3 separate regions of the Homo sapiens genome follow, and regions 2 and 3 are each linked to region 1. The links are contacts of gene promoters, found by promoter capture Hi-C in blood cells and fetal thymus (Javierre and others, 2016). All regions are on one chromosome and are shown on one strand. Each heading gives the region's core, a stretch centred on a gene start or on the middle of the fragment in contact. The rest is flanking DNA. Distances are from core to core; before and after follow the strand shown. Region 1 holds the start of PALMD (palmdelphin). Region 2 overlaps SNX7 (sorting nexin 7). Region 3 has its middle 110 kb from the start of SNX7.

Region 1 (5,149 bases), core at 1,516-4,015:
AAAGACTGGCACTTGGATCTTTGTTCTGTCAAATTCTAGGTATATACGTTTATTTTTTCAGTTCTTTGCAGTGAAAAATAATGACTTTTTAGGCACTTGAAACCAGGTAGAATAAATACAACTGTGAAGATTATTTTATTTTATAGCCAGCAATTGGAGAAACGAATTTTAATGTAAAAAGCAAATAGATCCTAGAGTGTAAAAGTTTTTTTTTTTTCCTCCAAAGTGAGGTCTATGTGTTGCTATGTCTGGGTGCATTGGGGAATTGCCTTCTGATTTCATTCTTGAAGTATACAAAAAATTATTTCAGTGTAGGTAAGTACTAGGAAAAAGCTAAAATGAGAAGATACTCTCTGAGTTTTAGTCTAGGTTGGAGATTCTGAGGCTTAAGCATTTCCAAAAATGAAATAATTCTTGCAAACTCTCTGCATACTCTGTGATTTTATTTTCCTAGGGGGAAAGAGACTAGCTGAGGTGGCTTCCTGGGCAAGGCAAGGGCGAGGGCGAGGAAAGCTGGCGTGTCCCAGGGCGTCCAAGAGGGAGGAGAGTGGATGTGTTGTTTCCATGGACACACCACTGCTCCACTTTTCCTCTAGGTGGTGACAAATGTGACTGGATTTAGCCTGGTGAGGTGTAGGCTGGTTTATGAGAAATTTGTTCCCATAAACTTTTTCCAGTTTTTTCCCTACAACCTTTATACAAGTATATTACTTCCAAGCTAGAATTACTTTGTGATCTTACTTGGGAGATTTGTTTAATCCTTTCTAATGGGATATATTTAGGCTGATGGAATAATCCAAAAATTTTTTTAATCATCAAAAAAGCATACATCTGCATATTCAGGAAGCTACTTACTCTCTTGATGGCTTTTAAGACATTATGAGGATTTTCTGTCTCTATTTGCGTTTGGAACCTTCAGTGACTAAGATTCCTAGCCTTAGAAATAACTGTATACAGCCATATCTTTGGAACATGTGTGGCTTTGGTAAGAGTTATAAGGTACACTGGAGGGAAAAAGGGCTTGAGCGAGGGTGTCCCCCAACTGAAAGAGGCAAATTCAGAACAAGGGTCTACTTGTCTATTTCAATTAGCTAATTAGGAGATATAAGCATTAGAAATAGTGGAGCCTGTGACCACACAACTCACGCAGTCTAATAAAGTAACCTTTAGACAACAGCTGTAATGTAAAAGGCCCATGCCAAAAACAACAGAGCAGAGCCGAGTTCCTGTCCCTTAAAGCAGGACAGCTGAGATGGTGGCTGAGTTTAATGACAAAAAAGGACAAAACAAAACAAACAATAATCCCGACCAAGGTTTTCTGAAGAGAGGAAAATGTAATAATTAGAAGCTAGACATTTAACAAAGCATTGTTTTATGGAAAAGTGCCAACCTTATCAATAGACTTCTGGTGTCTTACTATTGGCTAAGAAGACATTTCAATTTACTGAATGTTTCCTGGGTGAAACTAAGATATTGTATCAATTAGTAAAAAATCTAAATTAGGATTAGCATAATTAGTTATGCAATGAAAATTTTAAGAACAACAACAAAAAATCCCTGATCTAGCATCAGTTTTTAAAAAGTACTCATTTTTTTCCTATACCTAATGTCAGTGGCAGAAAATGCTGAGAAATTGGGATATTGCTTTCCAAAGATCTTTTTCTTCTTAAAACAATTACATCAAAAGTTATAGCTAGGGATAAATGATTGTGACACAGATTTCCAAGTTACTGCCAAATACAGGGTTTTATAAAATTAAAAAGAAAGCTGGATCATTTAAGAAAAGTAATTTATTTCTGGCTTTGACTTTTTCCCGGAACAAACATAAAAAATGTACGATTTTCCTTCTCGGTATTAACAAAATATTTTCCAAATCCACTGCATGCACTGCATTCCTTTATCAGGATCTTATTCAGTTTGTGACTCTGCTGGAAACTGATATCTTAGAATTAATCTGATACGTGCTTTTACCTAGTTTTCTCTTGTTTAATGCTTAAATTACGTATATTAACATTCATTTTAATTATTTTAGGCTTTCTGGAACATGCTACCACACTACAAATATAAAGTTTCAGGTCATTTTTAAAATTTCTTTTTCTCTCTTTAAAAAAAATTCTAACTTTTTGAGGCATTCATAGCTTAAAAAAGTTTCCAAGTTGGGGATCTGTTTTTTTATCTAATGCCAGTCAAATGGACATTTAAGGAAAAACTGCATTTCTAAGGTACACCACAGAGTGTGAAAGATAGTTAATCAGACTGCCTTAACAGCTTTTGATTGTTGTTTAAAATGCAGGCACAGCCTTTTTGAAAATCAAGAACGTTTGCCCTGCACTCAGGTTCTGAAGCCCCAGAGTTACAGAGGGTCATGAGGGTTAAGAGAGAAACAGAGACTCGTCCATGAAGGCTGACAGTTCTGTTTTTCCACTTGCGAGGGCTCAGCGACAGGGGCAGCCGGCCACGGTCTGCCTTCCTCTAAGTAACAACGTTAATGAGTTATAACTGTATGCAGACTTACTGTGATGGCCTGGAGTCTTCCCTTCACCAGCTCAGCTTCTTCCATTCTAGAAGTCAAGGACAGTCAGACGGGGAAGCAAGTCCAAAGCTACCATAAATCAAGGAGCCTCCTGGGGGAGAGGAGCGGGGGTGACAGAAGAGAAGCAGGGAGAAATCCGCTCTTTGCACCAGTGGAGAAATAGAGAAATTCCCGACTTGTCAGGAGCGTCTCCGAGCAGATGCACAGATCAGGCCAGACAGACACATGTAATGAGGGTGTGCTGGGGAGGCAGACGCTGAGGCTGCTGGCATGAGTTGACTGACAAGTTTGAACGGCAGCGGCACAAGCCCTTTTCCTTCAGGAGCTGCCAGCTCTTTGTTGTAATGTGCACAGTTAGCAAGGCACATTTTCTTATTAACTGTTCCTTACCCAATTCATTATTTTCCAGGAGTGGCACAGAGAGCCAACACACTGAGTGTTTAATCAGCCTCTGCTCTAGCAACACACAGCCATCCCCGGATGTGTTGGTCTGTGTGTGTTTGTACAAAGCTCGTTTACCTGCTTGCTAGCTCTAGGGGAGAGAGCCTTACCTTGACTGAGGCAGAAGTGCCAAGTCACTTGTTTGCCTTTCTTCCACTGATTGGATTTGATAATAATACAACAATCTATAGCTACTTTAAACTTCATGTAGTGGTAAATTTACATTGGTTCGTTCTCCCCCGTCTACACCCCACCCCCGACCCCCCTGCTCAGCACTTTGTTGCAAACTTTGGAATCTTTAGGTCATGGAGAAATCAAAGGTGTTAATGTGACTATATTAAGAAGTTGGCCCACCAAGGTATTTAGTGTGGCTTAAGCACCAAGTGCCACCTTTTGTTATTGCTTGACTTGGATTTCTATGGAATGCAGTTTTCTTTCTTGGACGCTGTTCAGAAATGACACTCTTGGCTTTCAGGAAGGTGCCCATTTTGACCTCACCGGTTACGCAAGAGAGAGGAGTGAGCCTTTGAAAATGTGATGAGACATTTGGTAACTGCCTGGAGCCCGGCACTGTGTGAATATTCGCCCATCCTTTAGAAAAAGGCAGGCAAGCCCAGTGAGACTCTTAGGTCAAAGCAGAGGCTGGGAAGCTGTACAATTGGCTCTGTCTGTTTTCTTTTCCCTACAGGTTCTTTAATTAAATTTTGCTGAAGTAAATCCTAATTACCAACTACCTTATTATTATGTGTTTGAATGCTATTAAGCGCTTTCATATCAACATTCAGCTGAAGAGGTTAAAAGGACAACCCAAACATTGAACATATGGTTTAATTTCCTTTGCAGTTTTGATATTAGTAATAATAATAGCTAATATTTGTTGCATTCTTTCTACAGGTAAATGCATACTTGCAAAGTGCTGAGAGATAAGTGCTATAATCCCTACTTTAAAAATGAGGGAACAGGCTCAGAGAGGTAATTTGCCATATAGCTAGTAAGTAGCAAAGCCAGGATTGGAACACCAGCTGCCTGACTTTATAAGTGGCATTCATCAAGGACTGCCCAAGGACACGGGGCAAGGAGAGGCACAGGCTGAAGGTTAAGTCAGTCTTTATGAGAAGTGGTTGGACCCCCAGCCTCCTTCTCTGTCTAGCTCCTAGAACACTACAGCTGGGTGTAACAGCCTAAGGCAGAACGGTGTGGGAATGTCCTCTGGAGAAACTTATTGGCCCTACTGAGGTTTCCCCACATTGTTGACTGGAGTTCCCCAACCACAGAGCCCTCATTCTGTCAGTCACTATAAGGTGAAACCCATGTTTTAAGAGTCTGAAATTATACTTGAGAGTAGTTTGTCCTTGCTCATACACCCTCAGAAGGGATACTTAGGGAGACCAGAGAATGGGAGGATTGTTTGGATGTGTGCCAAGTTTGATTACTGTTGGAAACATATTTAAGTGTAAAAAAAATCAAACCTTCAAGACTTCTGATTATGTTTATTTGTAGATCCTGGCTGAAATTAAAGACAAGAAAGCAGTAATGATAAATATCTCAGTCAGAATTGCATATTTGGTGCCTAGAACAAATGGGCAGTCATCCAATTATTAGTCTGGATCTTTTCCTAAAAACAATTTACCTCTCAAATCTCATTTCTGCTAGAGGAAAACCCAAGATTTTGCTAGTGTAGGGGAGGACAAGATTTAAAAAAAGAGGATGGGAATTTAGGAGGGAGCAGAGTTGCAACAACTGATTGGTATCATCATGTGAGTGGTAGGCAGAAAAGGCTGGAGCTGGGAAAATCTGGGGGACCTGAGTGGAATCCTGGAGCCAGAGCTCTGATGGTCTTGACAATCTCCCTTGGACTGCAATACAGATTAGGATGTTTCCACTCAACTTCGCCTCCCTTTCTCTTTCACCTGCCTCTTAGACATGTCCAGCTCCAGCCTTTTCTGCCTGTCCTCCCATGTTCTCTCATACAGTCATTTCTCCTAATAAAATTCTGTACATTTAACCCATCTTGGCATTTGTTTCTTATAGGATCCAGAATAACATCATCATTTCCACATCTACTGTATTTTGTTTACTTAATCTTTTATTGTCTACCAGAATGTAAGTTCCAGGAGAGGAGAAATTTTGTTCAGACACCTAACACAGTGCCTGACACATCAGAGGTTCTCAATA
Region 2 (5,149 bases), core at 1,208-3,707, 900 kb after region 1:
GAAATGTCTTAAATGTAGATTTCCCTGAGTTCAGCTTACAATTCTTGCTTCTTCACTTATCCAAATTTCCTGGTAATAATGTGTCAAACTGAGAAGGCAGTTTCTCGGAGTCTATGGTGGCTTGCCTCCAAAGATGTTCTAGAATCACAGAAGGCTATTCCATTTCTGTATCTTTTGCTCTGATCATTTCTATGTGCCTTCAGATTCTATTTGAAAAAAGAACTGATTGCTCAACAAAAAAGTGACATATTTGGTTAAAAGGACAAGGTTAATCATTAAATAATCAATAACAATGCTGGGCTCTCGAAACACAAGGAGAAAACTCTATTAAATGTGTTGCCATTTAATGGCATTAAAAAGATGAAAAGTTGTTGTTTTCCTTTTGATGATCATCCCTAAATAAATTAGATGATCCACAGAAAAGTAGCAATGATGTAACCTGAATTTCTTAATGCATTCAGGCTTCCAGTGAGTACTTCCCAATGAATAAGACGGTAAGATAATGCAGGTACAAGGATGTAACGAATTGGAAAAGTTAACTGGTATAAAAATGGCTAGACTGAGTAAACTTCTAAGCTTCTTATCCTCTCAAGCTGGTGTGTTTGCTTTGCCAGAAATATAGCCTACATGTAAGTGGAATCTATTCAATTTTAGGGTGTATAATGTAGTTCTGAGATATTCTGCACATAGTTCCAAAGATATAGACTGCTCTTTTCTGAAGGCCCATTTTAGCACCATCAGGGCGTCTGTCTCCTGAGGTCTAGGGTTTAGGTCAGGCTTCAGTAACTATTAGGAGGCATGACTGTAAAAAGAAATGCACCTTGTTATGGATTCAAAATTCCCTGTCCTGGATAACTCCGGATTATTCCAGCTCTAGTCAACTTCTTTGTTTCATAATAAGGAAAGAGAATTTAACTTTAAAGAATGTGCCTCTTGACAGAGGTTCAGCCTAGGAGCCTTTTTTATGGCCAACATAAAAAAAAATGATTCAATACAGACCATCTATTACACCTCTATTGCAACAATTTAAAAGAAAACTCAAACACTACCTGCCATTTCTTAGGCTCAAAACTATGCTGAACAACTCTATCTGGGTAACTCTCCTACCATATCCATCCTTCTCTAAGACAGGCTATTGACAAAGGGTTGAGCAAGTATTAGATGACTGTGCATGGTGTGTATCAGAAATTACAGAGGAGGTTACTTTGGAAACATTGTTCCAGTATTGTTGAAAACCTTCTCTGGGGGTAATTTTAGGATTCACCTAGGAAAGTAACATGGCCTGCATTTCTTCTGGGTAAGTAAAGGTCTGTCAGTCTTCCTTCTATGAGTAAATTTAGAATTAAGGGCTTCAACTGGGGCTTTGTAAGTACTGCTTTCAGGTTGGTAAAGGGTGGGCTTTTGCACCACTCACTGAAAAACAGAAGATACCCAGCCATCTCTTTTTTGCAGCAATGGATAGTTTTTGTTTTATTACCTCTTCAAATGTATTGGATTTTAGTTAACGTTTATTTGTATTTGCCTAATCCTTTCATCTTATACTTTCATTCTCCTTCATGGAGAAAACAGCAGTGAAATAGAAATGAGTTAGTTCTGTTTTCTTAGTTTCCATTACACAGTTTCCACTAGCAATTCATTTTTATTAATATTTTTGGTAACATATTAATTCCTAATTTTCTTGCTTCCAGAGATGCTCCTCATACCTACTCTCATTTGACTCTGGTGCTGTTTGGAAACTCTTCACATTTTTTCCCCCAAAACTCTCTTCTTCCTGACATATGCTTTCACTGACATTGCCTGTTTTTTTCTGTATTCCTTCTTGACTGTATCCTCCTCTATCATCTTTGTTTCCATGATCCATGGTCCACAGGTACAATTGTGTCAGATTCTTCACCTGCTTCATTCTTTTCACTTTTTAGAATTGTCCACTCCTCTCAAGTCATATTCTCATTTAGAGTGTATGATTTTGAGAAAGTATAACTAACTTTTATCTAATTTTTTAAGCTACTTTACTAAATTCTAGGAAATATGACTGAGAATGGCCAAATTTTCCTTCCTTTGCTTTCACCTCCCAGATTCTGGAAATAGTACTGTCTCCTGATGGAACTGTCATGTTAAGATAACAGTTCTTTGTTAATCAGAATTAAGTCTAGGGAGACTATTCCCCTCATTGCTCCTTTCAACTCACAGATGAGCACATATCAATACTTTTTCTGATTTTCAGTTTTGAATAGAATGAAATTTCTGACAGGAATCTAAATGCCATCCATCCAAATCTTGCTTAGGTAGCAGTTTTATCATCATTATCAATATAGTTTAACCTCTTAAGGTCAGAATACTTGGAAATTGTCCTAATTTGGACCAGGATGTTTTCAAGTAAATATTTACAAAATCTACAAAATGTTCCGAAGTATGTAGTGTAGTATTAAGTTTAAAACAAACAACCATGTCACTAGAATTTATTTCACCATTTTCCCAACACAACAAGAAATAAATCCCTAAATAAGTAAAACTACACTTGAAGAACCTTCTGGACACTCAGTGCTTATTCAGACTTAGTTTTTAGAGGACTGCTGTGAGATCTATTTTTACAAAATTTCTGTAATTTTTAAATGAGCCATAAATAACTAGACTTGGATTTTAAGAAAACATTAGTAGTACTGTTCATCTGGCTAGACAGATACCCTTGTAACGATTTTTTTCTTTTCCTCAAAATCTTTCAGAAATTTTCCTTTGCTAGAATTGTTTTTCTGCTTGCTAGATGTCCATATAAATATATTTGTGTTATCTGCTAAGAGTAGAACCTTTTATTCAGTCTATCCATTACAATCAAGCAAAAAAACTAATTTAAATACTTCACCATTAGAAAAAAATAACTTTAGGGCTGTATTAATCAAATAAATGAATAAATATTTTTATATATTATTTTTCCCTAATCAACTTTAGCCTCCTAACAGCAAGACTTAAGTGTGAATTTGGATCACCTCTCCCCATGCCACGCCACCCCTGTGTTTATTAGCACAGGGCTTTGATGATAACAGAATCTCACATAAATGAGTTTACATGAGGGAACTGACATTCCTAAATAAGACTGATAGAATAAGAAATGCAGTAATCATAGATAGACCTGCTTATTTCTTGAAATTCTTACCAAGTTTTCAAAAAGCTAATATTTATAATTATTTTTAATAGTAATGATAGAAGAAAAGAAAAAAAACAAATGTTTAACTATTATTATCTAAGCTAATAAATATACATCAGTATGATGTATCATAAGAAAATTATGACACTATGTGGAAACATATGTAAAATAAATGAAAAATATGGAACTCAAAATACTATTCATTTTAATCATTGTGACACAAAATAAGTAAACATATGTGTTTTTATGCTGACACATTCCAAAGACCCATGCAGAAAATCTAACAATAATTTAATCTTAAAATAGCAAATTATTTTCTATAATTATATTTAAATGAACCACTCCCTAGGAGAAAGGATTATATGGGTATTCTTTATCCTCATCATACATTTGTGTACTGAGCTTTTGTTGCTGTAATTGTTTTCAGTGAGCCTGTATTAATTTTATAACCAGAAAAATAAGATAATAAAACAAGCATTTCCATATATTTACTAATAATTTTAAAATAAACTATTCAAAGGAATGAACTATATTATAAAATAAGCTATGCAAAGGAATAAACTATATTCCTTTATCATATTCACTTAACGACAAACTGCGTAATTTGGCAAAAATTAACATTAGTAGAAACTTGGGCCAGCAAGACTGCAGAGAGGACAGCGCTATCTCCAAGAGTAACAGATACGGTCATGTGAGATGCCACATGTGAGATATAGAGCAGGGCCGGATCACAGCAGGTACTCAGAAATGGTAATTTAGCAGGCACACATTAAGAATCTGCTATGTGCCATAGACACCTTTGAACATAGCTCCCTTTACTAGCCCTACCCTCATCATTGGGAATATTTGTGAATTCCCTACCCTTTCTTACTATCCACCTTGTCCCTGATGTGTTAGAGACAAAGAAAGCAAAGACATTAAATGACCAAAAGGACATCAGAGCTGTCTGTCACCTCCTTAATAACAAAGGTGATTTCACTGGACTGGGTAAATGGTTCCCCATTTTTTGTGCTCATACTGACAAAAGGTAATTGTTCTATTTTATATTAATAGCTGTTGCCAAGTCCAGAGCTATTCTAAAGCAGTTCCTAAATAGCTGCACTTTCCTGCCAGAATTTCCAAATAAGCCCTCAAAGTCTAATTGTAAGAGGACATTGGATAGCCAAGTGAATTCAATGATATTAAAATAAAGCTTTGAGAAGAATGTGCTCTTCCAGTTCATAAGATCAGCCAGGAATCACTTGCTCTCAAGCCTTCATCATTAGCATCATCAGCATTGACAGCAACAAAGCAGATATTCTTTTGCACCTTCAAGAAAAAAGTTAGGAAATATCCATGCCCTGTATCCAGGGCATGGATGTTTTACTGTTTTAGAATCCCTTCACATTAGCAGGAAGTCATTTTCTTTCATTATTTGGGTATCAATATACTTTGAAATCATTCACCCTGCTCAAATGGATTTGTAATTTTATTGTTTCGTTATTCATTTGTTTAAAAAGACTCAACACATTTATCCTTAATTATTGGTCATACAGAACAAAATGGGAACAACATCATTTTACCTAGTAAAAGTTTCATTTGAGACACCTGTTCTGGATTTAGAATCAACTCTCTCCCAATAAATTCATACATCTAAGTACAACATGACATTGATTATTACATGTTCTTAGATGTAATAGATGCCTCTAAATATAACATGACACAATTATTGCACAATATGATAATAACTGGAGTTGGATACAGACCCATACCATGTATTTATAATATAATTTCCCTCTGCCATTTTGATATTTAACTTTTAATTTCTAAACAATCTGTGACCAGAACTTAATACAGGTAAATCCAAAGGCAAATGTATGTATACCCTGTTTCATCCATCACACTAGGAACAGACCGTTTTGGGAATACTGATGAAAAAAGAAGTATTTCCATTAGAATGTGATGAAATTAAACAGGAAATGAATGACCTCTGGAACATTTCACTTCCCTGTATATCTGAGATTTTCT
Region 3 (5,149 bases), core at 1,423-3,922, 880 kb after region 1:
CTAATTGCCTAAGAGTGCAAATCCACTAGTCGCTAAACAAAGAGAAAATTAAAATGTTTCTCATATATATATATGGGGTGTGTGTTTGTGCTGTGTAATTACAAATGCTGCATTCTTGTCAATGTTGCAATGTTCAGAATAATTTTGGGTGAGGTAGGGTTTATTTCATTTTCATTTAGTGACCTCAATCTCATCTGCCTCTGGAAGATCATCAAAGAATGCTTTGCTCCAGTGACCGTGTCTCATGAGAGCAAAGCAATAAGTCTGTTAAGAAATGCGGAAAGTTGTGATGCTTTATTTTATGCAAATGACAAGCTAGTAGCAAGGGTGAACTATCTATTTACCTATCTGTGCACCCATCCTCCCAGCTATCACCTATCTGTCCATGTAATGATCTTAAAATTCAGAAGGGAGATGATTCTCATGAAAATATGAATTTGTATGTTTATTTAAACTGAAATATAATGACTGACTTCACAATGAGGGCTGGTTTGATCAATTAGGTTATATGGCTGACATTTTCTATAAATTTCATGAGCTAAGTCTGTAACTCCAAAGTTTTGACAAAAAAACTTACAATACGTAAGAATAAAGCACTTTATCAAAAATTGTTGTCATAGCAAAGGTTTATTAAAATTAGCAATATTTAAATTTCCCTAACCTTTTCTATTAAACAAGGTGCCTCTAAAGTGAAAGAGTAAAAGATGAGTCATTGTCATTCAATAAGTTTTGGTAAAATCTGTGCTATTTTCCAGAAACTAAAAAGAGAAGAAAAACTCTGTGTGACAGTCACTTAGACAGCAGCTAAGTCTGTAGCTTAGCTCTTCTTCCAGGAGAGACCCTGTCATGAGAAGTGTAGTTAGCAGGCAGCCCCCGACTGCCACATCTTCAGATCCACTGCGATTTCCATGCAAACATCCTACTTTCCCCCAGACTGCTCTCAGCCAGTGACAGCCTGGCAGAGGTACCAGAGCTGGGGGTCACTTCTGCCAGGCCAGGATCCATAACAGAAAAGTTTTGCTCTGGGAATCTCTTTGGCCTAAGACTTTTTGAGAATTGTGCTGTATTCTGAGGCCCTCTGAACCAACTTTCTTCTCCTTTCACCTCTCCCCTCATAGATCCAGACTTGCATGGCAGTCTGAAGCCTTTCTCTGGCCCTGTCTTCTTTATCTCTTATACCCATAGTTTCTATCAATCTTTGACATTTCTAATTTTGTCTTGGAGTCTGCCTCCCAGTCTGAGACACTCTAATACCAGGGCATCAAATCCTTTTCTGATTATTTACTTTCAACAAAATTGAGAGAGAATCTAAGCAAAAGATCCTTTGCTAAACAGTAATTTTAAAAACTGGTAATACATCCAGGAGTAGGTTAAATAGAGTAAAAGTAATCTCATTCCCCTAGTTTGGAATTAGCTTAGAAACTCAGGCCTAGGCCAACTGTGTGACAAAATAGTCACAGGGATTTGTTCAGGATAGGCATAAATTTCAATTTGGAGAAATGAGACACAAGGAGAATGTTGGGTATTCTGGAAAAGAGTTTTCCTATTCTTAAAAAAGTAACCATTGGAAAAGATAACTTCCTGCTTCCTTTCTATACCATGTATATGGATACAAAATTAAAAGCCACCAAGTCACTTTCATACTGTAAGGAAAGGAAGCCAATAAGCAACATGCTCACAGACCAGGGAACTGCAGAGAAACAGGGGTGGAGCAATCAGATCAAGCTGATCTTAAAGCCCACTCTACTCAGTGACTTCCTAGTTAAATGAGGATACATTTTCTCTCCATTTTAACCTGCTAGAGTCAGTTCCCTATCACGGCCAAATGCATCCCACTTATTTGAGAGTGTTAGCCTTCCATGCCTCCACTTACATTGGAACCTGCCTGGAATCCACCTTGCCCCAGCTCCCTCCCATGTGCAGTGGATCCTGTCCTTTATGTCTCAGCTGCTTTCCTGGAATGGGGATGCAGTTGTTTATCTGGACATTGGGCTTTGCCTCTGCCTCAGCCTCCCACTTCTTATATTTTCTCTGTGGAAAGGGACCAATTTGGAAGTGAATACCAGCCTGAATCAAAGTCTACCTGGTCGTTTATTGGATTTTCTGCTTCTTTGTTTACCCAGCTACATTTCTGTCTCTAGCCCCTACAACTACCCTGTCAGTTAACGCTTTTGCGTCTCCGTGGATCGTTAAGATTTCAGAGACTATGGGCATATAAAGACAGACATATAAAATAATTAACTTTTAAGCTTATTCTGCTAATTTTCACTAATACATGCAAGTGTGCAAACATATTTGCATATATATTTTTGCACACATGCACATGTATATGGACATAGAGACATATCTATATATAGAGAAAAATGCCTTTCTATATATTTATGTCTGAATATCACGTTTGAAAGTTCTTATTATGATATATCCAGTGTATCATGGGTGAACTAATCTAAAGAACTAATCCGAATAAAGAGCTAATGCAGGGGTCTCCTAGGCCCCTACTGTCTCATGAGACATTTTCATTTCTGAAACTTGGGGACAATCTGTCTGGGGACAGTTCTAGAACACGAGTCAGTGGGGTGATTGGAGGCCTATGCCAGCAGCTATTTAGCAATTATTATCAAAGTATTTAAATGATTTGTTTTTCCTACTGGCATATGTCTCTGGATAGCATCAAATAGTTAAATAACAAGTATGGCTGTACTAGTACAAACCTCCCTGAATATGAACACTACTTATGACAATTTGAAGCCTGGTATCTTGAATTTCTATTAGTTCTACTGATGTTCTTATTTATGCTTTAGGTTTCCTAATTCTTCCGCTGTTCCTAGCTTCGTATGTTCTCCAATATCCCCACCTTTGTCACTCACTATAAAGGAGGTAATAAAAACCATATTGATTGAGTCCCTTAGAAGTTCACGCTATCCCCAACCAAGTTCTGGTAATCACTCACAATTCCTAAAAAAAAAACAAAAAAATAAACCAACAACAACAAATTCCGGTAAGTTTCAACAACTCATCTTGGAACTTCTTCTTTCTTGCTCACTACAGCCCAGACACCCTGGTTTTCTTTCACTTCCTCCTATGCATTAAGCTTTTTCCCATCTCTGGGCCCTTGCATGCATTGTTTCACTCAGCCACAATCTACTCCCCTTTGCCTGGTTTGTTCTTATTTTCTCGGTCTTAAGTCGTGCTTCACTGTCTACTCAATTTAAAATAGATGCTCCACATTATTACCTCTCTTACATCACAGCACTTCACACAATATGCAATTATGCATTGTTATGGGTTGAATTGTGTCTCCTTTCCAAAAAAACATATGTTGAAGTCCTAACCCTCAATACCTCAGAATGTGACCTTATTTCACTATGGGGTCTTTATAGAGGCAATCAAATTAAAATGATGTCATTAAGGTGGGCCCTAATCCAGTAAGACATGTGTCCTTGTGCCAAAGGGAAATTTGGACACAGGGACACAGAGGGAAGACAATGTGAGGACACACAGGGAGAAGATGTCCGTGCGATTGGAGTGATGCCTTTACAAGCCGAGGAATGCTGAGGATTGCTCGCAAACACCAGAAGCTAGAAGTGGCAAAGAAGGATTCACCCCTAGAACCATCAGGGAGAGCACAGTCCTGCAGACACATTGATTTCCCACTTCTAGCCTTGAGAACTGTGAGACAAGTGTCTATTGTTGTAAGCCACCCAGTTCTTGATACTTTTATAAGGCATCCCTAGGAAATAATATATGCATTAATCGAGATTTATTTATTATTTATTGTATGATGTCTGTCTCATTAGACTTTTAGCTTTATGAGAGTAGGGTATGTTTACTTATCATAATTATTTACAGCAACACAGAGGATGGTGTCTGGCACCTATTAGTAGTGGAGTATTTGTGGAATTAGTGAATTACTGAATAAGTGGATGCATGGATAATATTTTAATGCAAGGTCCTTCAAAAGAATTTAGAATCTCAGATTGTTCAAATAAACCACTTAAAAGCAACACTAATTTAATCTTAAAATCAGTAATCATAATGCTTCAAGTAGGAAAAGAAAATTTCTGATGCCTAATTATCAAACACTTCATTTAACCAGCTCTGATTAGTTATTAAATTGCATGTTGTGGGATGATTCCCCTTAAAATGGGAAAGCATTGTTCTTCTGATCTTACCAAAAGATTACCCTGTCATGTTTTAAGATAAAAAGCACAAACAATCTCTTCAATCTTCACGATTTACATTAAGAGAAATATAAACAGGAATTGCAGAAGTACAAATTGAACGTATGTAATTATAGCCTTAAAGAATTACACAAGCAAAAGTGATGGCAAACACATTTAAATAGCTGTCCCATTTTAAGGGATCTCACTGCACAATAACCTTATGAACAGGCACATAAATACATAATCAAACCTAGGTGAACTGTAACACATGAAGACTGGGAGATAAGTAACAGCAGGCATGCAGTTGGCTTCCTGCTCCATTGATTTTTATTCCCGTCTTTCCACTGATCACTATATACATTCACACACCACACATGTATACAAACACGCCACATAACACATATATATCATGTATATAAATATGAGCTTAAATATGTATCTATATCTATTTCTATTGACACATATGCATGACATTCTGAACATATCTTACTATGACATGCCTTGGTAAATATGACTATTGTTTGCTTTATCTCAGGATTCACCTATGAAGGGATTCGGAGTTTCAAAGATTTAATAGGTAACAAGGGGAAGCTGAGGCAGAACTTAACTTTTTAAATTCAAAGTAAGTAGTCAAAGTCAGCTGTTTCTAATTTATTCTTACACTTTCCAGCAATGTAGATCTGGCAGATTAATTCCCCTTTTCCACAGATGGGAAATTGGGGCCTAGAATAGTTAACTCACAAACTCAGAATTTTAAATGCTAAAATGACTTTTTTTTTTTACAGTATGTTCAGAATTTAATTCTAGTTCTAACAACTCATGTGTTTCAATGGAATCTTAATTCAGTATTTCCACATAAGAATATTTCTTACATATTGAACTCCTTATTCAATCAATTCTAACGTAAAGGTTGATTTTTTAATACAGATGAATGCACTAACAACTCTAATTTCACAGTCTTGTGCTATTTTTTAGCTAACACAATT

What was found. The method cuts DNA at HindIII sites, captures the fragments that hold promoters and counts their contacts. A CHiCAGO score of 5 or more calls a contact.
Region 2: a fragment that was not itself captured here is called in contact with the fragment with the promoter of PALMD in region 1 in 1 of 17 cell types (neutrophils); the score reaches 6.2 in neutrophils.
Region 3: a contact is called between a fragment that was not itself captured here and the fragment with the promoter of PALMD in region 1, in 3 of 17 cell types (naive CD8 T cells, M2 macrophages and neutrophils). The highest score is 5.8, in naive CD8 T cells.

Annotation. Positions count from the first base shown.
Region 1 is chr1:99,643,729-99,648,877 of GRCh38, reverse strand. It overlaps PALMD (palmdelphin), which reads right to left and starts at 2,765. Exons shown (of 8, transcript NM_017734.5): 1 at 2,516-2,765. The coding sequence starts at 2,560. The HindIII fragment of the contact is 18,161 bases long and covers 1-5,149 here.
Region 2 is chr1:98,741,069-98,746,217 of GRCh38, reverse strand. The region is part of intron 8 of SNX7 (sorting nexin 7); the gene reads right to left. Among named protein-coding and RNA genes, the nearest start is that of SNX7, 82 kb to the right of the region's middle. The HindIII fragment of the contact is 3,758 bases long and covers 579-4,336 here.
Region 3 is chr1:98,764,398-98,769,546 of GRCh38, reverse strand. No RefSeq gene overlaps it. Among named protein-coding and RNA genes, the nearest start is that of SNX7, 110 kb to the right of the region's middle. The HindIII fragment of the contact is 842 bases long and covers 2,252-3,093 here.